Regions from separate parts of the Homo sapiens genome. Here all the other regions are linked to region 7. Evidence: promoter capture Hi-C in 16 types of primary human blood cells and fetal thymus (Javierre and others, 2016). All regions are on one chromosome and are shown on one strand. The core of a region is centred on a gene start or on the middle of the fragment in contact, and the rest is flanking DNA. Distances in the headings are between cores, read along the strand shown. Region 1 overlaps LAMA4 (laminin subunit alpha 4). Region 2 has its middle 3.3 kb from the start of CCN6. Region 3 has its middle 62 kb from the start of LINC02527. Region 4 has its middle 61 kb from the start of CCN6. Region 5 overlaps FAM229B (family with sequence similarity 229 member B). Region 6 overlaps CCN6 (cellular communication network factor 6). Region 7 holds the start of SLC60A2-DT (SLC60A2 divergent transcript).

The links. Contacts are between HindIII fragments. The CHiCAGO score rates a contact against its expected background, and 5 or more counts as called.
Region 1: a fragment that was not itself captured here is called in contact with the fragment with the promoter of SLC60A2-DT in region 7 in 2 of 17 cell types (total CD4 T cells and activated CD4 T cells); the score reaches 6.8 in total CD4 T cells.
Region 2: a fragment that was not itself captured here is called in contact with the fragment with the promoter of SLC60A2-DT in region 7 in 1 of 17 cell types (total CD8 T cells); the score reaches 5.1 in total CD8 T cells.
Region 3: a fragment that was not itself captured here is called in contact with the fragment with the promoter of SLC60A2-DT in region 7 in 1 of 17 cell types (neutrophils); the score reaches 5.5 in neutrophils.
Region 4: a fragment that was not itself captured here is called in contact with the fragment with the promoter of SLC60A2-DT in region 7 in 1 of 17 cell types (neutrophils); the score reaches 6.1 in neutrophils.
Region 5: a contact is called between a fragment that was not itself captured here and the fragment with the promoter of SLC60A2-DT in region 7, in 5 of 17 cell types (non-activated CD4 T cells, fetal thymus, total CD8 T cells and 2 more). The highest score is 7.1, in non-activated CD4 T cells.
Region 6: a fragment that was not itself captured here is called in contact with the fragment with the promoter of SLC60A2-DT in region 7 in 5 of 17 cell types (total CD4 T cells, activated CD4 T cells, naive CD8 T cells and 2 more); the score reaches 9.3 in total CD4 T cells.

Annotation. Positions count from the first base shown.
Region 1 is chr6:112,159,128-112,162,558 of GRCh38, forward strand. The region is part of intron 13 of LAMA4 (laminin subunit alpha 4); the gene reads right to left. Among named protein-coding and RNA genes, the nearest start is that of FAM229B, 73 kb to the left of the region's middle. The HindIII fragment of the contact is 6,360 bases long and covers 1-3,431 here.
Region 2 is chr6:112,049,120-112,052,442 of GRCh38, forward strand. No RefSeq gene overlaps it. Among named protein-coding and RNA genes, the nearest start is that of CCN6, 3.3 kb to the right of the region's middle. The HindIII fragment of the contact is 1,675 bases long and covers 1,038-2,712 here.
Region 3 is chr6:111,970,093-111,973,344 of GRCh38, forward strand. No RefSeq gene overlaps it. Among named protein-coding and RNA genes, the nearest start is that of LINC02527, 62 kb to the left of the region's middle. The HindIII fragment of the contact is 4,920 bases long and covers 1-3,252 here.
Region 4 is chr6:111,991,164-111,994,218 of GRCh38, forward strand. No RefSeq gene overlaps it. Among named protein-coding and RNA genes, the nearest start is that of CCN6, 61 kb to the right of the region's middle. RefSeq lists an enhancer at 1,825-1,974. The HindIII fragment of the contact is 950 bases long and covers 914-1,863 here.
Region 5 is chr6:112,089,212-112,092,667 of GRCh38, forward strand. The region is part of intron 1 of FAM229B (family with sequence similarity 229 member B); the gene reads left to right. Among named protein-coding and RNA genes, the nearest start is that of FAM229B, 3.3 kb to the left of the region's middle. The HindIII fragment of the contact is 6,017 bases long and covers 1-3,456 here.
Region 6 is chr6:112,067,914-112,070,989 of GRCh38, forward strand. CCN6 (cellular communication network factor 6) reads left to right here. Exons shown (of 5, transcript NM_198239.2): 4 at 292-485; 5 at 1,426-1,773. The coding sequence ends at 1,707. It overlaps TUBE1 (tubulin epsilon 1), which reads right to left. Exons shown (of 12, transcript NM_016262.5): 12 at 2,750-3,076. Among named protein-coding and RNA genes, the nearest start is that of CCN6, 15 kb to the left of the region's middle. The HindIII fragment of the contact is 2,819 bases long and covers 1-2,802 here.
Region 7 is chr6:111,257,898-111,261,283 of GRCh38, forward strand. It overlaps SLC60A2-DT (SLC60A2 divergent transcript), which reads right to left and starts at 1,315. Exons shown (of 3, transcript XR_001743807.2): 1 at 1,227-1,315. It overlaps SLC60A2 (solute carrier family 60 member 2), which reads left to right and starts at 1,442. Exons shown (of 4, transcript NM_153369.4): 1 at 1,442-1,830. The coding sequence starts at 1,804. RefSeq lists enhancers at 1,092-1,151, 1,472-1,551. The HindIII fragment of the contact is 14,878 bases long and covers 1-2,011 here.

The sequences.
Region 1 (3,431 bases), core at 186-2,685, 900 kb after region 7:
AAACTAAAACTAAACTAAAACCTTCAATTATCCACACATGTCCCTAATGTTACTACAATACTTTTCTGCTCTCTTCATAGCAACATATTTCAAAAAATGGAAGTTGTTTATATATGTTGTCTCTATTTTCTCTCACTTTATATTTCCTATTTTGACCTAGTCCTGTCTGATTTCTACTCCATTACTCTACCAAAAGAGAAGTTAATTACATCTAAGTTACTAAATCTAATGGACATCATTCAGTTTTCATCTGACCTTTCAGTTACCTTTCAGGTGACTGACTACTTCCTAAAAATCACCTTGTAACACAGGCTCTCTTGGTTTTTAATACAACCACAGACCTACGATTTTGCTTAAAGATCGTGCAACTGTGTAGACGGATGTTCCTGCAAACCCGTGAGTTTCAGCCTTGGCTGGCCCCTCAATGCTGCAAAGAGATTTGTTCTCCTAGTCACCCAAATAGTGATTCTAAACATTGTCATGATTCCTAAGCCAACATTTCCTTCACCCACCCCCATCTGATTGTAAACAGATCACTTTATTTTCTTTTTTATTTGGAGGTCATAAACTGTTAGTGGGGGACACTTCTTCCACACTTCTGATGTCTCCTTTATATGCAGGGAGCACAGTGAGTGAAACTCCAGACCTCTCTACCCCTTTCCTCACTCTACTCCTGTGAGAGGGGAGTGGTTGATTTTGTGGGTAAATTTGGGAAGAATAACTCTATAGGCTCTGCTCAACTCCACCCTTCTTTGTCCTGGGAGCAAGCTGCCAGCAGAAAGCCTGAGTTTTCCTGTGTTCCTCCATGTTAAAACTATTCTGGGCAGAACCCCCATCTAAGCCTTACGGTGTTGCCTGTCTGGGTGGGCACAGCTGCTTAATACTGGGACTGAATGTCAGCTACCCCACTTGGCTAAGAGACCTAAAGCCATGCCTGCTGCTTAGCTGCTTCAGAAATAAGGCAACCTCCTTGGTCTCTGTATTTACTATTTTATTTATGTTTCCACCTGTTTAGAACTTGGGTTCTGGAAAGGGTCACTATTTATTGGTTAACTCCCTCAGAGACTCCAAAACCAATGAACAGGTATTTCCCCAGCTTTTTGCAACCAGCCCCCAGCCCTTCCCCGCAAACTCTATAGATGTATTTATAGCTACACCTACACAAAAATTTCTCTCCAATTTTAAGAGGAAAATGTTCATTTTCTGTATAAAGCATGCTGCCCCATTGTCTTGGTAACCCCGTTATTCATTCTTGCTTTCTAGCTACTGACTCTTCTCAGATATAAACATGCTCAAGTATCTCCCGTCAAAAAACAAAACAAACAAACAAACAAACAAAAAACCTTATTCTTTCACTTTAGGCTCCCTTCTAGCTTTTTCTCTTGCTTTGACACAGTGCACTTTACAGAAATGTTTCTTGCCAAGATCACCAACACCTGGCCCCAAATCTCCAGATCCACTTGACATTTTCCCATCCTTATTTACTGGACCCATCTGTGGTTTGCTACAGTGTTGGCCACTGTCTTTGCTTAAAACTCTTTTCTTTTCCTAGCTTCTGTGACTATGCTATCTCCTGGGTCTCCTCTTTCCCTGACCAAGAAAGAGACCGTGAAACTTGGCATTTGACTCCCAGCCCTTTCCTCTCCCCTGAGTGATCTCACTTCTTTCTCTGAGGGCAGTCTTTGAGTATTCTAATCCATTCTCCACTGTCTTGCAGGAAAGGTAATCTTCCTATTAAGAAAATCTGACCATGTTATTTCCCTTCTCAGAATCAGCCAGTTGCTTTGCAGGAATGAGTCCAATTTCTAAGCATGACATCATCAGCTGACCGCTCTTCTCTCACCAATTTCATCAATTCTCATGACCCCCAACCTGCTATATCCCATGGTCTAATCTTGACCAACTGGTTGTTGTTTTAATGCTCCACAATTTTTTCTGGTCTCTTACCTCTGCAAATATTTTCCCTTTCTGGAATAATTTTCCTTTATTTTCTGTCTAATCTACCTGGAAAGCTCTACTCCTCCTTTCAAATTCAGCTCAAATATCACTTCCTTTTTGAGGCCATCCCTAACCTCCTCAGGATGAGTTAAGTGTTGCCATGTGTTTTTATTATTCATTCATGTGTCAAATGATTGTAATAATTTTAAGTGATTATTTAACTCATCACATCATACAATCCTAGGAGGCAGGAACTGAGTTTAACTTATTTTTGTAATCCCAGAATGTAGCACAAAGGGTTTGTAGTACAAAGGGTTTACTTTTATGGAGGCAGTATTAAACCTCTAGCCATTTTGGTTGGTCATCTGGGGAACAATACTTTGAAAAAAATGTTTTTAATTGTATAAGTGGAAAATAGACCATGGACATACCACTTTTACTCATTCATTCCATCAACAAATATTCCCTGTGTGCTCATTATGGACCAGGAACTCTTCTGGGGGTAGAATACCTTTGAACACAGTCTCCACTTTCAAGGAATTTACAGTTTAGTGGGAGAGATACAGGTAATAAACAAGTGATCAAACAAGCAAACAAGCTAATTTCAGGGAGTAAAAGATATTTTGAATAACATATGACAGGTGGGGTGGGATGAGGAGTGAGTGGGGTAAGGGGTTCATTTGGATGTCAGGGTCATAAGGACACCAGCCATTTGAAGATCTGAGGGCAGCAGGTGCAGAAATCCTGAGGCAGGAAATAAGTATGGTATATTTGAAAAATAGAGAGGAGTTTGTTGGGCTGGAGTGCAGTGAGTGAGAAAAGAGTTGGGTATGTGGTCAGAAAAGTGGGTCTGAGCTGGGTCATGTAGGGTCTCATGGGCCATGACAAAATGAGCTTGTTTCTTACTTTAAGTGCCACTGGGGAGTGTCTATAGTAGAAATAATGTTGGTTATGTTTTTAAAGGATTGTTCTGCTACTGCATAAAGAATATGTCTTGAAGGACAAGAGTGGAGACAGTTGGATCAGCTAGGAGGCTCTGGTGGCAATTTAAACTGTAGATGAGGTGACTTGGACCAAAGAGCAGCAGTAGAGACAAGGAAAGTGGTCAGAAATCAAGATTCAAGGCCTGGTGTGGTGGCTCACGCCTGTAATCCCAGCACTCTGGGATGCCAAGGCAGGTGGATCATCTGAGGTCAGGAGTTTGAGACCAGCCTGGCCAACATGGTGAAAATCCATCTCTACTAAAAATACAAAAAATTAGCCGGGCATGGTGGTGGATGCCTGTAATCCCAGCTACTCGGGAGGCTGAGGCAGGAGAATTGCTTGAACCCAGGAGGCAGAGGTTGCAGTGAGCCGAGATCACTCCATTGCACTCCAGCCTGGGCAACAAGGATGAAGCCACGTCTCAAAAAAAATAACAATAAAAAAATAAATAAAATAAAATAGAAAGAAAGAAATCAAGATTCATTTTAGAGATAAGGAGAAAGGAGAAA
Region 2 (3,323 bases), core at 625-3,124, 790 kb after region 7:
TGAGGAACTTAGCCAGTGCAGGGCACCCTGGTACTGGGGCAGCCTCCTGGAAGTACCATGAATCATCAAGTCCCTCTGAGCTTTAGTCACCTCCCCGGGCTGCTGCATGGGGAGGCCTGAATGTTCAGTCCTCACCCAATGCTCGGCTGCACTCCTCTTCCTCCCCATCGTCTCCCAGCATCACCTCTTACCAGTGAGAACAAGGCAGGATCTCAAAAGGCAAGATAAAGCATGCCAGCAGCTTCCATCCTGTGCTTAGAGGATGGATAGGCGGGAACCCTAAAGGGCCTCACTAACTTCTTGAAATCCAGGAGAGGAGCAGGTGGAAGAAAAATACAGAGAACTCAATGCAAATTAATATATCAATCAATCATCCTGCTACTGATCATGGTGTCATTTACAGGCCATGCAGAGAGCAGCAGAGCATGGTAATGAAATTCTTGGAATCTTGGTTCTACCTCTTGCTAACCATGTGACCTTGCCCCAGTTTCCTAATAAGTAAACCAAAGATGGTAATCACAGAACACAGGCCCAGTGTTGCTGAAGGATCAGAGGAGTTAATACATATACAGCACTCAGTACAATATTGAGACACAGTGACACTCGGCCAATGTTAGCTCTTATTATTATTATACTTTTTTTTTTGAGACAGGATTTCTCTCTGTTTCCCAGGCTGGAGTGCAGTGGTATGATCATAGCTCACTGTTGCCTCAACATCCTGGGCTCAAGCAATCTTCCTGTCTCAGTTTCCCAAGTAGCTAGGACTACAGGTATGCACCACCACACCTGGCTAATTTTTTTACTTTCTATTTTGTAAAGATGGGGTCTCACTATGTTGCCCAAGCTGTGTTATTGTTACTATATCTCTATTTCACTGGAGCAAATATTGACCCCCCTCATAGCACACATTCAATACATTACTTCCACAAACAATATCTTCTCTTTTCTCAAGGATGTCAATACACCCTTCTCCACAATCAGTAAGATAGGAAGATAAGGAAAGAGGGGATGAGGAAAGGAAGACTCATACTGTACTAAGCTTGCTGACCACAGGCATGAGCTCCAAACACTGCCTGCCCGGACGGCTGGTACTCCCAGGAGAAGGGACTATTCTAGCTGTGATGACGCTCCTAACAGAACGATTTTAGGAATCTTACGGGAAAGGAGTGGGGTGTGCTCTGTGCGGGGGAGCTCACCACCATTAGAGGTGTGCATCTTGCCAGTGGAAGGAGTCCTGGACTGGCAGTTGTCTCCCGACTCTTCATCTAGCTTCATCTCTTGACTAAGTATCACTTCCTCAGATGTCCTCTCTGCCCCCAATCTAAATTAGCTCTCACCTGTCATTCTCTCTTATAATTTCTTCTTTGCTCTTATTAGCCTTTATTCAACTTTCAATGACGGACATTTTGTGTGTTTATTTGTTCAGCGTCTTCTCTCCCAGTAGATTATTTAGCTGTAGAGGGCAGAGATTAAGTGTGTTTTATTGACCAAGTATAATCGCTTAGCTTTCACTTTTTAATCTGTTAAATGAGGTTGGTAATACTGCTTTTGCCCACCTCACTGAGCTGTGAAATTAAAAATGTAATACACAGGAAACTTCTTTGTAAATCATAGAACATGGTGCACATTGAATTATGCTTAGCGCCATGTCTATTGGAACGTACATCACAAACTGAACACTTGTGAAATGAGCTCCTAGACAGATTAGCATTCTGTTAAATGAGATAATAGGGAAACATGCTCAGAACAGGACACACACTGTGAAAGCTCTTATTGTGTAAGGTCAAAAATAGCAGCCCCGACCTCTAAAACTACCATATCCATGGAGTCCACACACAGTCGGCTGGAAAGAGTTAAATAGGAGCTCCCACAGCCAAAGATGTCTAAACACATGTGGGAGTGAGTAACCCAGCGCCAGTGTGTTCTGGAGCTGGGGGAGGTTTTGCAGGTCACTTTTCAAGCAAGATGTTCCTTTCCTACCAAGAGGCAAGGATGGTCAACATCTATCTTCCCCTGCTCCACGTCAGTGAGACTGCAGAGGGATGGAAGACGATTCCAGAAAAATGCCTGCTGCCGCCAGCATTTCACAGACAGCAAACGGGAGGAGGGTGAAACTCCTTAAATTCAAAAATTGCACTGATATGTGCATTACTATATGTGGAACCGGGGGAGAGCTGGAGCTGGAGAGATACAGTTGATGAATACCCCAGTGTTGGGATGCGACTCCTCTGCTTTTCATAGACAAACCAGAAACATGAAATTATCCATCCTGACAGCCGGTGTGGTGTGGGAATCACAGGCTGGTACCCACAGACCAATGGTGATAACCAGGAAGATAAAAAGACAAAGATCAGATTGGACACTGATGGGTCTTGACTCTTTATCCAATTTGCCAGTCTGTGTCTTTTAATTGAAGCATTTAGTCCATTTACATTTAAGGTTAATATTGTTAAGTGTGAAGGTTAATATTGTTATGTGTGAATTTGATCCACATTATGATGTTAGCTGGTTATTTTGCTTGTTAGTTGATGCAGTTTCTTCCTAGCATTGATGGTCTTTACAATTTGGCATGTTTTTGCAGTGGCTGGTACCAGTTGTTCCTCTCCACGTTTAGTGCTTCCTTCAGGAGCTCTTGTAGGGCAGGCCTGGTGGTGACAAAATCTCTCAGCATTTGCTTGTTTGTAAAGGATTTTATTTCTCCCTCACTTATGAAGCTTAGTTTGGCTGGATATGAAATTCTGGGTTGAAAATTCTTTTCTTTAAGAGCATTGAATATTGGCCACCACTCTCTTCTGGCTTATAGAGTTTCTGCCGAGAGATCCGCTGTTAGTCTGATGGGCTTCCCTTTGTGGGTAACCCGACCTTTCTCTCTGGCTGCCCTTAACATATTTTCCTTCATTTCAACTTTGGCGAATCTGACAATTATGTGTCTTGGAGTTGCTCTTCTCGAGGAGTATCTTTGTGGCGTTCTCTGTATTTCCTGAATTTGAATGTTGGCCTGCCTTGCTTGGTTGGGGAAGTTCTCCTGGATAATATTCTGAAGAGTGTTTTCCATCTTGGTTCCATTCTCCCCGTCACTTTCAGGTACACCAATCAGAGGTAGATTTGGTCTTTTCACATAGTCTCATATTTCTTGGAGGCTTTGTTCGTTTCTTTTTATTCTTTTTTCTCTAAACTTCTCTTCTCGCTTCATTTCATTCATTTGATCTTCCATCACTGATACCCTTTCTTCCAGTTGATCGAATCGGCTACTGAAGCTTGTGCATTCATCACGTAGTTCTCGTGCCATGGTTTTCAGCTCCATCAGGTCATTTAAGGACTTC
Region 3 (3,252 bases), core at 128-2,627, 710 kb after region 7:
GTTTGAAGAGAAGGAGGCATGCACACATTCATGCAAAAGTAGTATCAAATTTAGATAGTTGTTGGACAAAGAGAAAATTCATACATTCAGACTGAGATGAGGTTTTGAATCCATTTTTTGGTATGTGAAAATATTATAATAGGTAGCTAGTCAGATACGAGTAGGGCCGGAAAGGGCGGCCCCCGATACACGCACACACACACACACGCACACACACACACACACACACACCAGGAGTGTCAGGCGACCATCCAGTGATGGTCAGGCAGCTGTTAACTGTCTCTCTAAAATAATAATTGGTTCCTGATATAATTCATCTCAATGTATTTTTTACATTTTACTGCCTGACTCCTTTTTTTAAGATAAATTTACTTTACACAATTTTTGTTTCTTTTAACTTTTATTTTAGGCTTGGGGGTACATGTGAAGGTTTGTTACATAGGTAAACACACGTCACAGGGGTTTGTTGTACTTACTATTTCATCACCCAGCTATTAAGCCTAGTACCCAATAGTTCTCTTTTTTGCTTCTCTCCTTCATGCAGACTCCAGTGTCTGTTATTTCCTTCTTTGTGTTGTAAGTTCTTATATTTAGCTTCCACTTACAACATGTGGTATTTGGTTTTCTGTTCCTATGTTAGACTCTTTTCATTAGGATCTAATAATCCAAAGACAGGGATTTTTTTTTTTCGGTCTATTATGGTCTCTGTTTATTCCCAGAACCTTGAACAGTGCCTGACACATGGTAGGTGCTGAATTTATATTTGTTGTATAAATAAACACATCAAAAAAACATTTTATTTGCTTCTACCCTGATGAGTTAACCTCACAGTGGTTACCCTTGTATTTTTAGTTTTCCATTCACATGTATCAACTCTACCTCTGGTAGATTATCAGCTCTGGAGAGGAGTCATCTATTTCTTTGTCTCCTAAAAGTGGCTATCTACGTGATCCAAAATATGCAGCAGAATTTGCATATATGTGCATGTTAATTGAGTGTTTGTGAAAATTGAGACTTGGATGCTGAAGAGAACAGGTAGGTTTCTCACCCCCTTGAAAATATTCCATTAAAAGCCTTCCCAAATAAACTCATGTTCTGCTCTTGGGACAAAATAAAAATACTTGGTTACCTATGAATCTAGTACTATTGTTTCAGTCTCTCTTCAGATTTAAAGAGTGAGGTTCATCGTCTGAGCAGTTTAATTACAAACAACCTCTCTTAATTCCTGTATTGCTGGAGCTCAGAGCACACTCAGATCAAGGGAGACGACGTGCCACTTTGTACAGGGCTCAGCCTTGTTACTGTTTATCTGAGTAAAGAGCCCTCTTAACCTCGAGGCCAAGCACATTAGATGTTTTGTTTCAATTGAGTTCTCTGCAATGGTCCAGATTTCTCTTCATTTCAGAAATCCTCAGCACCGATATTGGGAAACTCTTGGCGTTTGTTTCCCCATCAATGAATGGGCCTAACACAAAGGAGAGTAAGATTCTTGGCCGTGAAGGACCTGGGGTCTGGAATAGATGTGCTCCATCTGCCAAAGCATTTTCCCCATATGGCTGAGATTTTTTTCCTACTAAAAAAAAGAAAAAAAGAAAAAAAATGACAACAACAACAAAAAACACTTACTCAGCAAACTGCACAGCAAGTCATTTGTGCCAATAAAATGACAGTCATCTTCAAGGCCACAGGCTAAAAATATGAATTATCAGGTAGAAATTGGCTCTAGGATAAATATATTTTTCTTCATTCCCTACTCCTTCCCACAATCAATCTCTCTCCCTCTCACTCTCTTTCCCATCCACACATGTGTGTGCATACTCATGTGCACACTTGCACACTCATAAAAACTGGAGTTTCCAAAATTTCCCAGTTGGTTGAGAAGCAGAACCCAAAGTTGGGTGAGGAAAAATGACTCATTCCCCTAGGTTTGGTTTTTACTGCCAGAAAGCAGATTTTCAGGAAGGAAAATCATATGTCCCAAGCCATCACCAAAGTAAAATCAATCAAATCCCCAGTGTCTGCCTCAGAATCTCCATGAGTCTGTGGTCTAGAGTCAGGCAGTGACTAGTGGTTGTGTGAGCTCCAGAATACTTTGCTTCGTCTTGTGGGATGTTATTTTCTAACAGCTATTGACAATTTTCATTTCCGCGTGGCAGGGTCCATGTGGTCAAAAGAACTTGACCTAAGCCTTATAAAATCACCAATGTGATGTTTTTATTTGGAAGCATGTTTTGCTGAGGCCATCAGAGTGGAACTGAGAGTTTAGTGGGCTGTGGTTCAAGGAACCACACTTACATGATGGTTTACAAGCAACTCAGCCTTCTCTGAAGGACGGCCTGATTTAGCCATAAGCGAAGAGTCTGGGCTCTGGAAGTTCAGTCTGAACAAAGACTGAGATAGGAATGCCTAGGGCATTTTTTGGGTCTCCATCTCCTCACCTGTGAAGTCATATGGACAATAATTAGTAAACAGGAGCACTGAAAGGATTGGCATTTTTGAAATGTTAAATGTTGTTTTCTTCAGCTCCAGCAACAACTGTTTCTTGTGACTTTCTGTGGGACTCTGAGGAATGTTGGGATGATAATCACAGGAACCAATGGCTGCCTCTGGAAAGCCCATAATTCTGCACATTCATGGAGCTTCACTCTGATTCCAAATCCAGAAAGACCACCATGTCACTTATGGAGACACTTGAAATCCTTTCCACATCTTCACTCATCACGCCTGGGGTGAGAACTAGGAATACGTGAATAAACCAATAACACGTTACTGAAGTCAGTTTCGAGTTTTGCCTGCTATGAACTTAGAAACAACTCCATTTCTCTCAGCACTAGATGGCCTGTTCAGAGTGTATGTGTGTGTGTGTGTGTGTCCTCATGTGTGCAGAGACAGAAAGAGACAGAGGGAGAGAACGCAATATTTAGTTTTGAAGATATTACACTTATAATTATGCTTTCAGAAGCCTGTTTCTGGGAGTACCACAGAACAATGCAGTTAGGTTACCCAAGGAATAAAATCATTAAATAGGGCCGTCCTCTGGTTTTTCCTCCAAACCACTGTCTGTGTGTTGTTCAGGGGAAAGAATCTCAGCTTATTCACAAGTGGCACTATCTTTCCACAGGATGTTCATTGTTTTGAAACTAGAAGAAAACCTCAACAGCTCTGAAGTATATAATTATGCTTTCTTATTACCCAACAAGAATGTTCTCGGGAGTGTTGTTGCGATGACTCGCTTGCGAGTGATCTGACGGA
Region 4 (3,055 bases), core at 139-2,638, 730 kb after region 7:
GGTCATAGTTACCCTTTATTGAATAACTAATTTGGGCCAAGAAAAGTTTTATATGTTATTTTTAATCCTCACAACAATCTTTCAAGGTCATTGATAGTATTAGTGATTACAGGTGAGGGTGAACTGAACTTCAGGGAGGAGGAGGCTGTTTTGACGAATGCCTATTAACCTCTGTAGGGAAGGCATTAGGTTCAAGAGGCTGAAGAAGAGACCCAGAGCCAGAAAACGAGACTTGGGGTTTTATTAGGGGATCACATGCAGGGGAGAGAGTCAATGACAGTGGGCTGGACAAGATATCTGTATGGTCTGGTGGCAGCAGGATGGGTAGGAGAACCAAAGCTGCTTGCAAACATCATGCAGTTTATACAGCATTTTCACTAACACCCTCCCCTTAATGACCTCCACCTCGCAATGTCCATTAAGGCTCCGGGCCTCAATCCTCTGTATGGCCCGTGTCCCACGGGATGGGCTGGGAGCTCAGATGTTACTCATAGACAAGGAATAAATCTCTGGATTGGCCACTCCTGGATTCCATAGCTGGGAGCACACATTCAGATGCATCTGTCATACAAGGTCATTCAGACTACAGGGACCTCCCCCGACCCTAGGTAACAGAGCTGAAGAGTGGCTGAACTAGAATTCAGTCCCGAGTCTTTCCAACTTGGAACTGACACAGTCATCTGAAGGCTACAAATAACGTTGAAGAGAAGATCATAAAGCTGGAGAATCCTGGCCATCTCTTAGTCCACACCTCACCCTTTCAGACGTGGCAGGGAGACCCTGAGAAGCTTAGTGTCTTGCCAAAGGCTATAGAGGTAAGATGGGACCGGGACCCTGCCTCCCAGGACAGCGACCTTTACAGTACACTAGTGGTTTTGTATGTCTGGGGCCACAGAAGCCCTTTTTCCAAAAAAGCTTGTGTACAACGGCTAAGCTCAGGTTGCTCTGCTTGAATCATGGGAGGAAGCCCCAGAGCCTGCTTCTGTCTTGTTTTCTACTTTTCTCTCTCCCAAGGCATTTCTGGGGAGCACGGTTTGAAAAACATCCTTTTTAATACTGTCTTTGAATGATTTTTTTGGTATGAAAATAAATTTTTAAAGTGAAATAAAAAAAAAAAAGAAAAACACTTGTCTATAGCACAGCTATCTCTGTGTGTGGGGTCCATCATTCTTTCTAGTTGCTTTGAGCAAACACAAAACCTCTAACTTCTTTTTTTAAAATGGAAGACTTGGGGGCCACCCTTTGTGCTGTGGTTTCTTTGGCCTTATCCCATTGTCCAGGGGAGGCATTGGTGATGGAGCTTGTTCATTTTTCTTGTGCTCATTGGATATGCGATCACAGAAGATGTATCTAGGACTCTGGAAGTCATAGAAACTCACTATTATTAGTCTGAGAAAAAAAATGGGGAAAGTATAGGGAAGAAAAAAATAATCCAAACATTGTTGGCTGGGTGTGGTGGCTCATGCCTGTGATCCTAGCACTTTGGAAGGCAGGAGGATCATTTGAAGCCAGGAGTTTGAGACCAGCATGGGCAATATAGTGAGACTCTGTCTCTACAAAAAGTTAAAACGAAATTGGCTGGGTGTGTTGGTGTGCACCTGTAGTCCCAGCTTCTCAGCAGACTGAGGTAGGAAGATCCCTTGAGGCCAGGAGTTTGAGGCTGGAGTGAGCTATGGTCACACCACTGCACTCCAGCCTAGGCGAGAGAGTGAGACCTTGTCTCTAAAACAACAGCATGAGCAACAATAACAACAACAACAATGAAGTTCATCTCCAATTTCTTATCCTGTCCTTCTCCAGCTGCCTCCCACCTGGGGTAGCCTCAGTGGAGAAGCACAGCTGCTAAACTAACAAGCGCAGTAAAGCTTCCTGGGCCGGATGCGCCATGAGAAGATGGGTAAAAACATTAGGAGCCATGCACCCATAAAGGAAACCAAACAGGAAATTTGATGTGAATCATCAGAAAGCACCCTGTATGGAGAGAAGGCTGTGGGGCTTAGTCAAAGACAAAGCACATGTTGTGTTGTTTAGGGATAGTGGATGGGAGAAATCATATTAGCTGAATCTATAATAAGATAGAAACATAGAGTGTCCAGATTCTTGTAAAGCAGATGGTAAATGAATTCTGCTCCTGGAGAAGGACAGTTTAAGGAATTGGAGATGAATTTCAGCTTTAGGTACTATAAGAAAAGGCCATATTGATTCACAAGACAGTGAAGCCAGGTGTTCTGTTTCCAAGGGGCTGTGAAAGCCTTTGGCAGACTGTGTAGCTTCGGTTCATTTTCTGTCCATTTATCCACTTATTTCTGTGGCACCTGCCACGTGGGGGCTGAGAGGCAGTTAGCATTATTACACCTGCTGGCAGGCAAGAATAATTGGAGTTGCACAAAGATAAGCAGGGTTCTGTTCAGTTAAGAGCATCGTCTGAAGTGAGTGAGGCTGTCTGCACACTGGGGTGCTTTGTGGGGGTCCTAAGAGTGGTCTCTCTGAGACAGATGGTCTCGTAGTCCCAAGTCACTACTCTAATTGGTTTCTCCCGCGTATGTAGGAGGTAACAGGGGAAGGTGGGAGCAGGTCATTAAGAACCTGTCACACTGACTGCAAAGTTAGAGAGGCTGAACACTGAGGAGAGACTGGGGCTTGTTTTCTCCCAAAGGACACTTTGGAGGCAACACTCACTGCCTCTTGCTCACACCAGCTACCACTCTGATCCTCAGAAATCACAACTTTTTGCAAGCCCATTGATACAAGCTTGTGATGCCAATACAGGTTGTCAAGGTGGTTTTGAAGATGTTCAAGTCATATCCCATGAGGACATTAACACGAGGTTTCAGTCTTAAGCAGAAGTTAGAGGAGAGAAAGATCTAAGTGTGGTGAAAAGAGTATTGGACATTGGAGAGGTGGTGTTAAGGGTCCCTCTTGATACTGGGCATAGGAGTTATCTTTTTATCTCTTTCCTTTCCTGTAATATAAAGGCTCTGGTCCAGAAGATCTCCGAGGCCATTCCCATCAATACTGGTGGCAGGAAACTGTCTCCTCACTGCTCCCTTACACC
Region 5 (3,456 bases), core at 659-3,158, 830 kb after region 7:
ACATGCTGAAAATGAAAAAGAAAAAAATTATTGGGAATCCTATGGACTCCTAAAATTGAAGGAAGGAAGACAAGGATGGAAGGGAGAGAGGGAGGGAAGGGGGAGAGGAAGGAAGGAACGATGTAAAAGATGGATAAAGTACAAGACCTTGGGGTAAAACCTAGCCTAAGAGGGGAGAAAAGAAAATTCATCATATCTACTTTGTGCTGAAGAAGAACTTAAGAATATGAATGCAATAAAACAGGAACTTAAAGACAAGATACTAAAATAATAAGACTCAAGCTCTATGAGGGCTGAGTCTTGTTGTTTTATCCACTACTAGGGATAGTACCTTGCATATAGTAGATAGTAAATAAATATTTGATGAATAAATGAAATAAAATGGAGATAAAAGAACTAAGGAAATTAACTGAAGACAACAACATCCACCTTAAAGGACTTAAAGAAATAATTTTTAAAAGCATTTAAGAAGCAGACTAGAGAGATGCACATCAAATTATAATGTAGAGGAAAGTCTTAAAATAATAACAATACTAGGCAAAACCCAGAGATATGAAAGTTATTAAAAATAATATGTATGAAGGAGACAAAGATGGCTCAACATAAGATTAACATGTGCCCACAGCAAATGGAGGAAAAAATGTACTTGATAAAAAAAAAGGAAGAAAAATACATAGATTAAAAGGATACACACTATGTTCTATAGGACAATTTATAGAAAAATCAACACCAAGACATGCAGCCTCATTAAGGCATTCAACTTTTCAGAATAAAGAGAGAATTTTTTAGGTACCTAGGCATGAAATGAACGGGGGAGTGGGATGAAGAAAAAACAATTAATTAGAGTACTTTAGACTCATCTATATAGCACATTCAGTACTGGAAGGCATTGAAAACATGCTGCAAAGTTCTGAAGGGGAATAAAATGTTTTAGAAGAAAATTATTCTGTAGCTTTTGTAAGTTGTCATTAAAATATAATTCAGAGTTGTGGGTGGTCTGTTTTTATTCTTGCTTGCACACCGCCATTTCTGAGCTCATCTCTTTCTCATATAACTTGACAAACAGTAGCAACTGACATGTTATTGTTTTCCAGCCTCTTCTCCCAACATTTAAATTCATTAGTTAAATCACATGCCTTCTAGGTTATCACAGAGTTTTCCAAAGATTTTTCCCAATAGGTTTGTTCCTGGGTGACATAGATCACTATCCTTTTAGCTTTCCACAACAGTTTCCTTGTTAATTGCTGCTTGACCACTTAGGTATGGTGACTTATATTTTAGATTTTTGTTATAGCGGTACCTAAGTCTGGACCAAAGTCTGTATACATCAGCATAAACTTTGTTGTGCTGTGGTAACAATCAACCCCAAAATCTCAGTGGTGTAAAACAACAATTTTTTTTTTGTACATGATACATGTCCATTGAGGGGTGTCTGGGGGCTATGCTTTATGTTATCCCCCTTCTGGCACTCAGGCTGATGATCTGCCATTATTTGGTCCATTTTTGATTTGTTTGATTTTAAATTGATTAATTATTGTGTATATTAATGGGGTACAGTTGATTTTTTGATAAATATTTACATTGTGGAATGATTAAATCAATCTGATTAACATATCCATCATTTCACATACTCAGAATTTTTTTGTGATGAGAACATTTAAAATCTGCTCTTTTAGCAGTTCTGAAATATATATTATTAATAACTAGTCACCATGCTATGTAATAGATCTATAAAACTTATTCCTCCTAACTGAAACTTATTGTATCCGTTGGACATCTTTCTGATCTCTATCCCTGTCCCACCCTCCAGCTTTGCTACCCTCTGGTAACCACCATTCTACTCTCTACTTTTATGAGCTTGACTTTTTTAGATTCCACATCTAAGTGGAGTGTTTCTCTTTCTGTGGCTGGCTAATATCACTTAGCATAATGTCCTCCAGGTTTATCCATGTTGTCACAAATGACGGCATTTTCTTCTTTTTTAAGGCTGAATAGTATTCCATTGTGTATATATACCACATTTTCTTTATCTGTTTCTTTATTTGTTAGAGAGTATGCAAAAACAAAGCTCTGAAAATCTTTAAGGAGTTCCTCATGAGCCTAAACTGAGTGCTGATCCTTGCATGGATTCATGGAAACTATGTAAGACTGAGGAAAGAACCACTGGAAATAAGCGGGCAGAACAATTCCTAGGGTTCACATAGGGCTAGGACTAATTCACATTCCCCGTATCTTGAGTGGAGAAACCTTAAAATAGCTGGAACATTGAGTTGAGTACTCAGAAAGGTACCTCAGTAGTGAAGAAAAGTTAGCCCTGGATGAAAGGCTGTTGTAATCTAGCTTAAGAGAGCATGAAACCAAGCCTCCAAAGAACCAGGCTGTTTCCAAATAGCTGTGTCCCAGAACAAAACTTAAAAATACTTAGAGGAATAAAAATAAAATTGTTTAGCAATGTAAAATCACAATGCCTGGCACCCAAGTCAAAAATTGCCAGATATGCAAAGATGAGTCCCATAATGAGGTGAAAAATTAGTTAAAAACAGAACAAGAAATGGCACAAATGAAAGAATTAGTAAACATAATAATTACATAAAATTAAAAGAACATTAAAGCAGTATATGTTCAAGAGGACAGAAGGAAGCCCAGGCAGACTGAGAAGGGACAAAGAAATATGAAAAAGAGATCCCAATTAGACTTCTAGAGATGAAAAGTACAATATCTAAGGTGAAAAATGGATGGAATAAAGAGCAGATTAGACATTAGGCAAAAGAAAAGATTAGCAAACTTAAAGATGTAGCAATGGAAACTGTGCAAAATAAAACAGAGAACAAAAAGATTTTTTTAAAAAGGAGAACTAGTGCACTGTGGGACAACTTTCAACAGTGTAATATACATGTAACTGGCATGCCAGAGGAGGGAACAAAAAATACTTGAAGAAACAATGCCTAAAAAAATTTCAAATGTGATAAGTATTATGCACCCACAGATCCAAGAAGCTCGGTGAACCTTAGGCACAAGAAACAGAAAGAAACTATGCCAAGTACATTGTAATCAAATTGCTTAATATCAGTGATAAAAAGCAAATATTAAAGCCAGCCAGATAAAAAAGACATATTACATATAGAGGAACAAAGATAAAAAAATCAACAGACTTCTTGTTGGGAACAATGCAAGCTGGAACATAGTGGACCCAAATCTTTAAAGTACCTAAAGAAAACAAAACTGCTAATTGAGAATTCTATACCCAGTTAAAATATTGTTCCACAATGAATATGAAAAAAAGAGATATAAAAGCTAAATTAATTAATCACCAACAGACCAGCACTGTTAAATGAAACATTCAGGCAAAGGGAAAATTATGTTGTAAGAAAATCTGGACCTACTCAAAGGGATAAAGAGCACTGAAAATGATAAAAATGTAGATGAATATAGAAGGCATCTCTTGTTTTAAAGACA
Region 6 (3,076 bases), core at 143-2,642, 810 kb after region 7:
CAGAGGACAGGCAAAGCAGAAAAATGCAAATGAGTAAATCTTCTCAGTTTTTCAAAGATAAAGTATTTTTATTCCTCCTAAGAGACTGGACTGTAATACTTGATTGAAAGTTAATTTTGGGGTTGGGAAAGAGGGAGATAGAGTGATAAATTAGACCATCGGCTTCTTTTATTCTGAGTTATATTATACAAAAATACTCAGATTTCTTAAACATTAAACATGATTAAAAATTATCTATTTATACAAGTACATTTATATGTATACATATGTACTTTTCTCCCTTTGTTTTAGCTTATAGAAATCTCCCACTTATTTGGAAAAAAAAATGTCTTGTGCAAGCAACAAAATGGACTCCCTGCTCCAGAACATGTGGGATGGGAATATCTAACAGGGTGACCAATGAAAACAGCAACTGTGAAATGAGAAAAGAGAAAAGACTGTGTTACATTCAGCCTTGCGACAGCAATATATTAAAGACAATAAAGGTAAAGTTTAAATATATTTAACTTAATTCAATATTAAGAGATTCCTGAAAAGTAAGCATGTGTGTGTTTTGGAGGGTGGGATGGTGTTTAGTTCTTAGAAAAATAAAAGCATCTCATTATAATGCTTAAAGTCAAACTATTTCAGAGGAAAACAGGTATTAACTGCATGTTGTGGGGAAAATTTTACCAACCAGAGCAGATTCTAACTTCTTTTTTCTATGTTAATGAATAAAAGATTTTGGTTGCTACACTATAATTATGAAAACAGATATTATGAACATCAGAGTAGAGAAGTCCTGATCTTAGTTATATATCACTAACTTGGAAGGAAGCCACACCATTTCCAAAATGCTCTATGCTTACATAGTAAACTTGCTAAAACACTATGATAAAATATTTACCCTAAGATTGTTTGGTATAACTAGAGCTGGTCCTGCTTCTTGAATGAGGCAGTAAGTCTGTCTCAAAAAGGGTAATTTTTAGAAATGCTACACAATCCTTCTACCCCAAAGTTATTCTCTATCATATTAGCAAGTTGACAATTCAGTTTTAAAGAAAGATTAGGATAATTATTCATCTATGCATCCACTGAAAACTGTCTGGGCTGTGTTATGGAATTTGCTAAGTCTTAGATAAATATTTAATAAGACATGGCTCTTGATATTAAACAAAACAGAAATTTCTATTTATTGTAAAATTGAGTCAAGAATAGATAGCAAAAAACATTGAGGAGTACGTGCTATAATATGATGAAGAATAGAGAGGACAGACCTCTGATAAGAAGGGGATCTTAAGGGTAAAGAGAGTGCTGGAAATCACTACATAGCAACTTTTATTAATGCCTCCAAATACTCAGATTTGTACTATAAACTATTCTACATGTTTTCAAAACTATTGTAATAAAATTTAAAGAATGACTTCATTTTATCTATCTTTTCAGATTCCCAAAGGAAAAACATGCCAACCTACTTTCCAACTCTCCAAAGCTGAAAAATTTGTCTTTTCTGGATGCTCAAGTACTCAGAGTTACAAACCCACTTTTTGTGGAATATGCTTGGATAAGAGATGCTGTATCCCTAATAAGTCTAAAATGATTACTATTCAATTTGATTGCCCAAATGAGGGGTCATTTAAATGGAAGATGCTGTGGATTACATCTTGTGTGTGTCAGAGAAACTGCAGAGAACCTGGAGATATATTTTCTGAGCTCAAGATTCTGTAAAACCAAGCAAATGGGGGAAAAGTTAGTCAATCCTGTCATATAATAAAAAAATTAGTGAGTATAAAATGGTGGCAAATCTACTTTGTTTAAAACAGTATGAATGCCTATTCTCAGATCACTACATTTAAGGCATTAGAAACTTTTAAAAAGTTATCTTAAAAATATACATAAAATTTGAACAACTTAAAAATTGAACTAATTTCTAAAATATATCCTATAATTATATAATACACAGACATTTGTTACCATCTAAGCATTTTGTATATGAAAAAATTATGCAATTTACAAGAAAATATTTTACAAAATAATCTGGAATACTTGCTAAAGCTGTATAAAAAGTATACTAAATTTTAGGCTGGGCGCAGTGGTTCATGTCTGTAATCCCAGCACTTCGGGAGGCCAAGGTGGGCAGATCATTTGAGGTCAGGAGTTTGAGACCAGCCTGGCCAACATGGTGAAACCCTGTCTGTAATTAAAAAAATACAAAAATTAGCCAAGTGTGGTGGCATGCGCCTGTAATCCCAGCTACTCGGGAGGCTGAGTCAGAAGAATTGCTTGAACCCAGGTGGTGGAGGTTGCAGTGGGTCAAGATTGCACCACTGCACTGGCACGGAGAAGCGAGACTCCTTTGGGGGAGAAAAAAACATACTCAATTTAAAAAATTTAATCTATATTTGACAATGTAGCCTAAGGTGCCCATTAGTTGATACATCATTATAGGGCAAGTGAAATTCTAGATTAATTCTTGAACAGAAATAAGATTAAGCTGTAAATATATTTAGACTTTTCACTGCCTGATCTTGAATATCAGTTTCTTTTGGAAAGGAGAAAATGCAACTTTTCTGGCCACTGTTAACAACTGCAATCTAAAATTTTTTACATCAAATATTGTAAAAAGTTAAATTTCCAAGACAAAGACCAAGAACAGTATCATTACTTTGCAAAGGAAAGAAATATAAAGAATACAACTTAAAATTAACCTGTGGATCTGAAATATAAAATGTTATTAAAAATAAATTAATGTTAAGGCTAGAACTGAAGATTATAGTAACCGGAACAATTATAGCCATTTATTGCAAAGTTTGGAAGATATCAAGCTTAGTAACATTCTGTTCATTTGCATAAATGTCATGCAGAACAATAACAAGTAGCACTGTTGAAAAATATAGACATTTATTATAAAATCAATTGGTTTGATAAGAAAGCAATTATTTAAAAAGTTTAATACAAATACATGTTAAGTGTACAAATTAGGATTCTTTTGGGCAAACAAGTTGTTATCTAAAGAAGAAGCAAAACCTCCTTAACAGTTGTAATAAAACCTATGCCTGAAAAGTTGGTGGCTATTACACGGAAATATTTATATTGT
Region 7 (3,386 bases), core at 65-2,564:
CCTGTAATCCCGGCTACTCAGGAGGCTGACGCAGGAGAATCGCTTGAACCTAGGAGGCAGAGGTTGCAGTGAGCCGAGATCGCACCATTGCACTCCAGCCTGGGCGACAGAGCGAGATTCCGTCTCAAATAAATAAATAAATAAATAAATAAATAAATAAATAAATAAATAAAAAAGAAATGCTTGGCGGGGCATGGTGGCTCATACCTGTAATCTCAGCACTTTGGAAGGCCAAAGGCAGGCGAATCACTTGAGGTCAGGAGTTCGAGACCAGCCTGGCCGACATGGTGAAAACTCGTCTCTACCAAAAAGCGCCACAACACTCCAGCCCGGGCGACATAGGCTCTGTCTCAAAAAAGAAAACAAACAAACAAAAAAAAAAGTGGGGGTGCGGGTGGGGGGAAGACTTAATGACTAAACGAATAAGTCTGGAGAGACGGGTTGCAAGGGATGATGAGACTAAGGTTTGTAGTCTGGGAGCCTAAGTGGATGAAAGTTGGAAGAATCAGGTGGAAAAGAACATTTCAAATAGACCACAAAGAAAAGTATATAACATTTTGAGGCTGTGGTACGCTTTGTTAAAGAGCAAAAGGAAAACAATTCCTCAAATCAGGGGGGAGGGATAGCATTAGGAGATATACCTAATGTTAAATGACGAGTTAATGGGTGCAGCACACCAACATGGCACATGTATACATATGTAACTAACCTGCACGTTGTGCACATGTACCCTAAAACTTAAAGTATATAAAAAAAATTCCTCAAATCGATGCCACGCTCCACTTCTTTACAACGATGGAATTATTTCAGGAATTGGAATTATTTCAGGAATTGTGTTTGAAACCACAGCTTTGGATCCCGATTTCTTTCTTGAGCTACTGTTACACTGTTTATATACGGCCACTAATTCGATGACTGAGCTTGGGCAGATTGTTAATTATTTTCTATGACTTAATCTTTCTATCTGTACAACGGGGATAACGTGGAATTTGGAGTGTTGTGAGGGTTGAGATAATATACGTGATAACTTACACAATGACGTTCAACAAATACTTGTGGAGTGAAAGATGCGCGATTCATTGACAGATCTCAGGGATTTCAGAAAGCTGTATAAGGACCAGCTCTTCAGGCTCCCTTCGCTCCCCAGGAGACCGGGGAGCCGGCGCGAGGCGCTACAGTGTAATTCTTGGCCCCTTTTCCTCATAATGGTTTGGCCGCATTTTTACCTCTTGATTTCCCTGGTCCCAGGCTGCAACTTCAGCTCGCTCCGCCATGGGGCGCACGTCCGCCAGCCTCTGTGAGCTCAGCTAAGTATGATGCCTAGGCTAGAGAGCTACGTCCGGTCTCCTAGGCAACCATATCAACTTCCGGCTTGAGGCACGATAGCGGTTGGCGAGAGGCCACATTTCCGCCACGTGACCCGCGCATGCGCCTGCTTGCTGGAGAGCGAGCGTCTTTTGCCACGAACACCTGCGGCGTGCCGAAGTTCCTCTTCTCTGCCCCGGTTCCGGGCGGTCCGCTGGGAGGTGGCGCCCGGAGGGACACCCGTGCCTGGGGTCGGGGCCAGTGCTCTTCTCGGAGCTCCAGAAGTTCTGCTGAGAAGCGCGGCGGCAGCAAGACGACTTCTCCGGAGCCGCCGAGCTGGAGTTAGAGGTGGAGCTCCGTGGGGCCGGGCCCCCGGCTGCGGGGCAGCGGCTCCTGCAGGCGGAGGCCCCGGCGGAGAATGAGCCGGAGCCGGAGGTGGTGGTGGTCTCCTGGCAGAGCGGTGGGACCGGGAGCAAGCTGCGGTGGTTCACCACCTTGATGCTGTGTGCCTCCTTCCTGGGGCTGGTGAGAGCCGGGGCTGCAACACTCCCAGGCCGGGGCGTTCGAGTCTTGCCTTCGCCACTTGCAAACTGACCTTGGGCGCGTTACCTAATCTGACTGGGCCTCAGTTTCATCATCTAGAAAATGGGCACAATTCTAATCTTGGAGGAAATAGATTTTCTGAATACGTCTTTCAGCTCCAGCAAGCTTTTTTTTTTTTTTTTTTTGACGGAGTCTCGCTCTGTTGCCCAGGCTGGAGTGCAGTGGTGCGATCTCGGCTCACTGCAACCTCTGCCCCCAGGGTTCAAGCGATTCTCCTGCGTCAGCCTCCCGAGTAGCTGGGATTACAGGCGCCTGCCACTAAGCCCGGCTAATTTTTGTATTTTTAGTAGAGACGGGGCTTCGCCATGTTGGCCAGGCTGGTTTCAAACTCCTGACCTCAGGTGATCCGCCCACCTCGGCCTCCCAAAGTATTGGGATTACCGGCGTGAGCCACGGCGCCCGGCCCGGCAAGCCTTCCTACGTCTCCTTCGTCGGATGGGAAGGTTGCAAGAGGGGTTCACCAGGTCTTTGGCCGCTGCTCTCCGCACCCACCCACTCAACCCCCAAATTATTACACAGAAAAACTACTTTTCTGGAATTTCTTCCTGGTGATCTGACCAAATTCAGCCAACCGCTTAATTTTGCAGATAAGGAAATAGGCCCGGAGGGGAAAGTGACTTTCTGGATCACACAGCTGGTTAAGTGATAGAGCCAGAAATATGTCTTTTACTCTGCCCACCATCCTATTTATTAATAAAACCAACCTTTAGATTCTTAAATGTTTTTCTTGGAGCAAAGGGCAAGCCTAGAGGCGCCTTTTGCCAAACCCCTGGGTCGCCACTCAATTCACTTTTCGGAAACCTCCTCCTTATCACTTGATAATTATGATCCTGGGGGAGTTGAGAGGATGAGTCCTCCCAAGAGTCATGTGTGGTCACTTACCATCTCAGGGACTCTGAGCCACAGTTGTTTCTTAGAGTATTTTGATTGGGGGCGGTGGGGAGGGGTGAAGAAAGAAATCACTTCAGACTTTTGGTGAGTCGTCACTGACTTGTCCGGTCCTGTTGTAAATCCTTTGAAGACATGAACTAATTTGATTAGATTCTGTGCTCAGGCTTCTCTCGAAGTACGAGGTGCTTGCTGTGCACCTGGGCCCATAGTGGTCCGTGGTCTTGGACTGTTACGAGTTGGGCAGGGGGCGCACCCCATGCATTTAGAGCAGAGCAGGGCAATTAGAATCAGTTATTCTGGAAATGTAGACTGATTGGAAACATTTTTTTCTTTAAATGTCCAATGAATTTCCTCTGAAAGTCAATTGTAATCCTTACCTCTTGCTGACACTGCATTGAGTAAAGTTTTATTGTTAAAGTCATTCTGTACTTGGGCGTGTAATATTTTTTAAGCAACCTTTACTGACTAATTCTGATGGCGTGGAAGAAAAGTGTAGATTTAGAAACATTTAAATTGTTTATCTCCTGTATGTTTTATATGTATAGTTCAGGGGAAGGACTCCATGTGCATCCAGAAATATTGCTGTT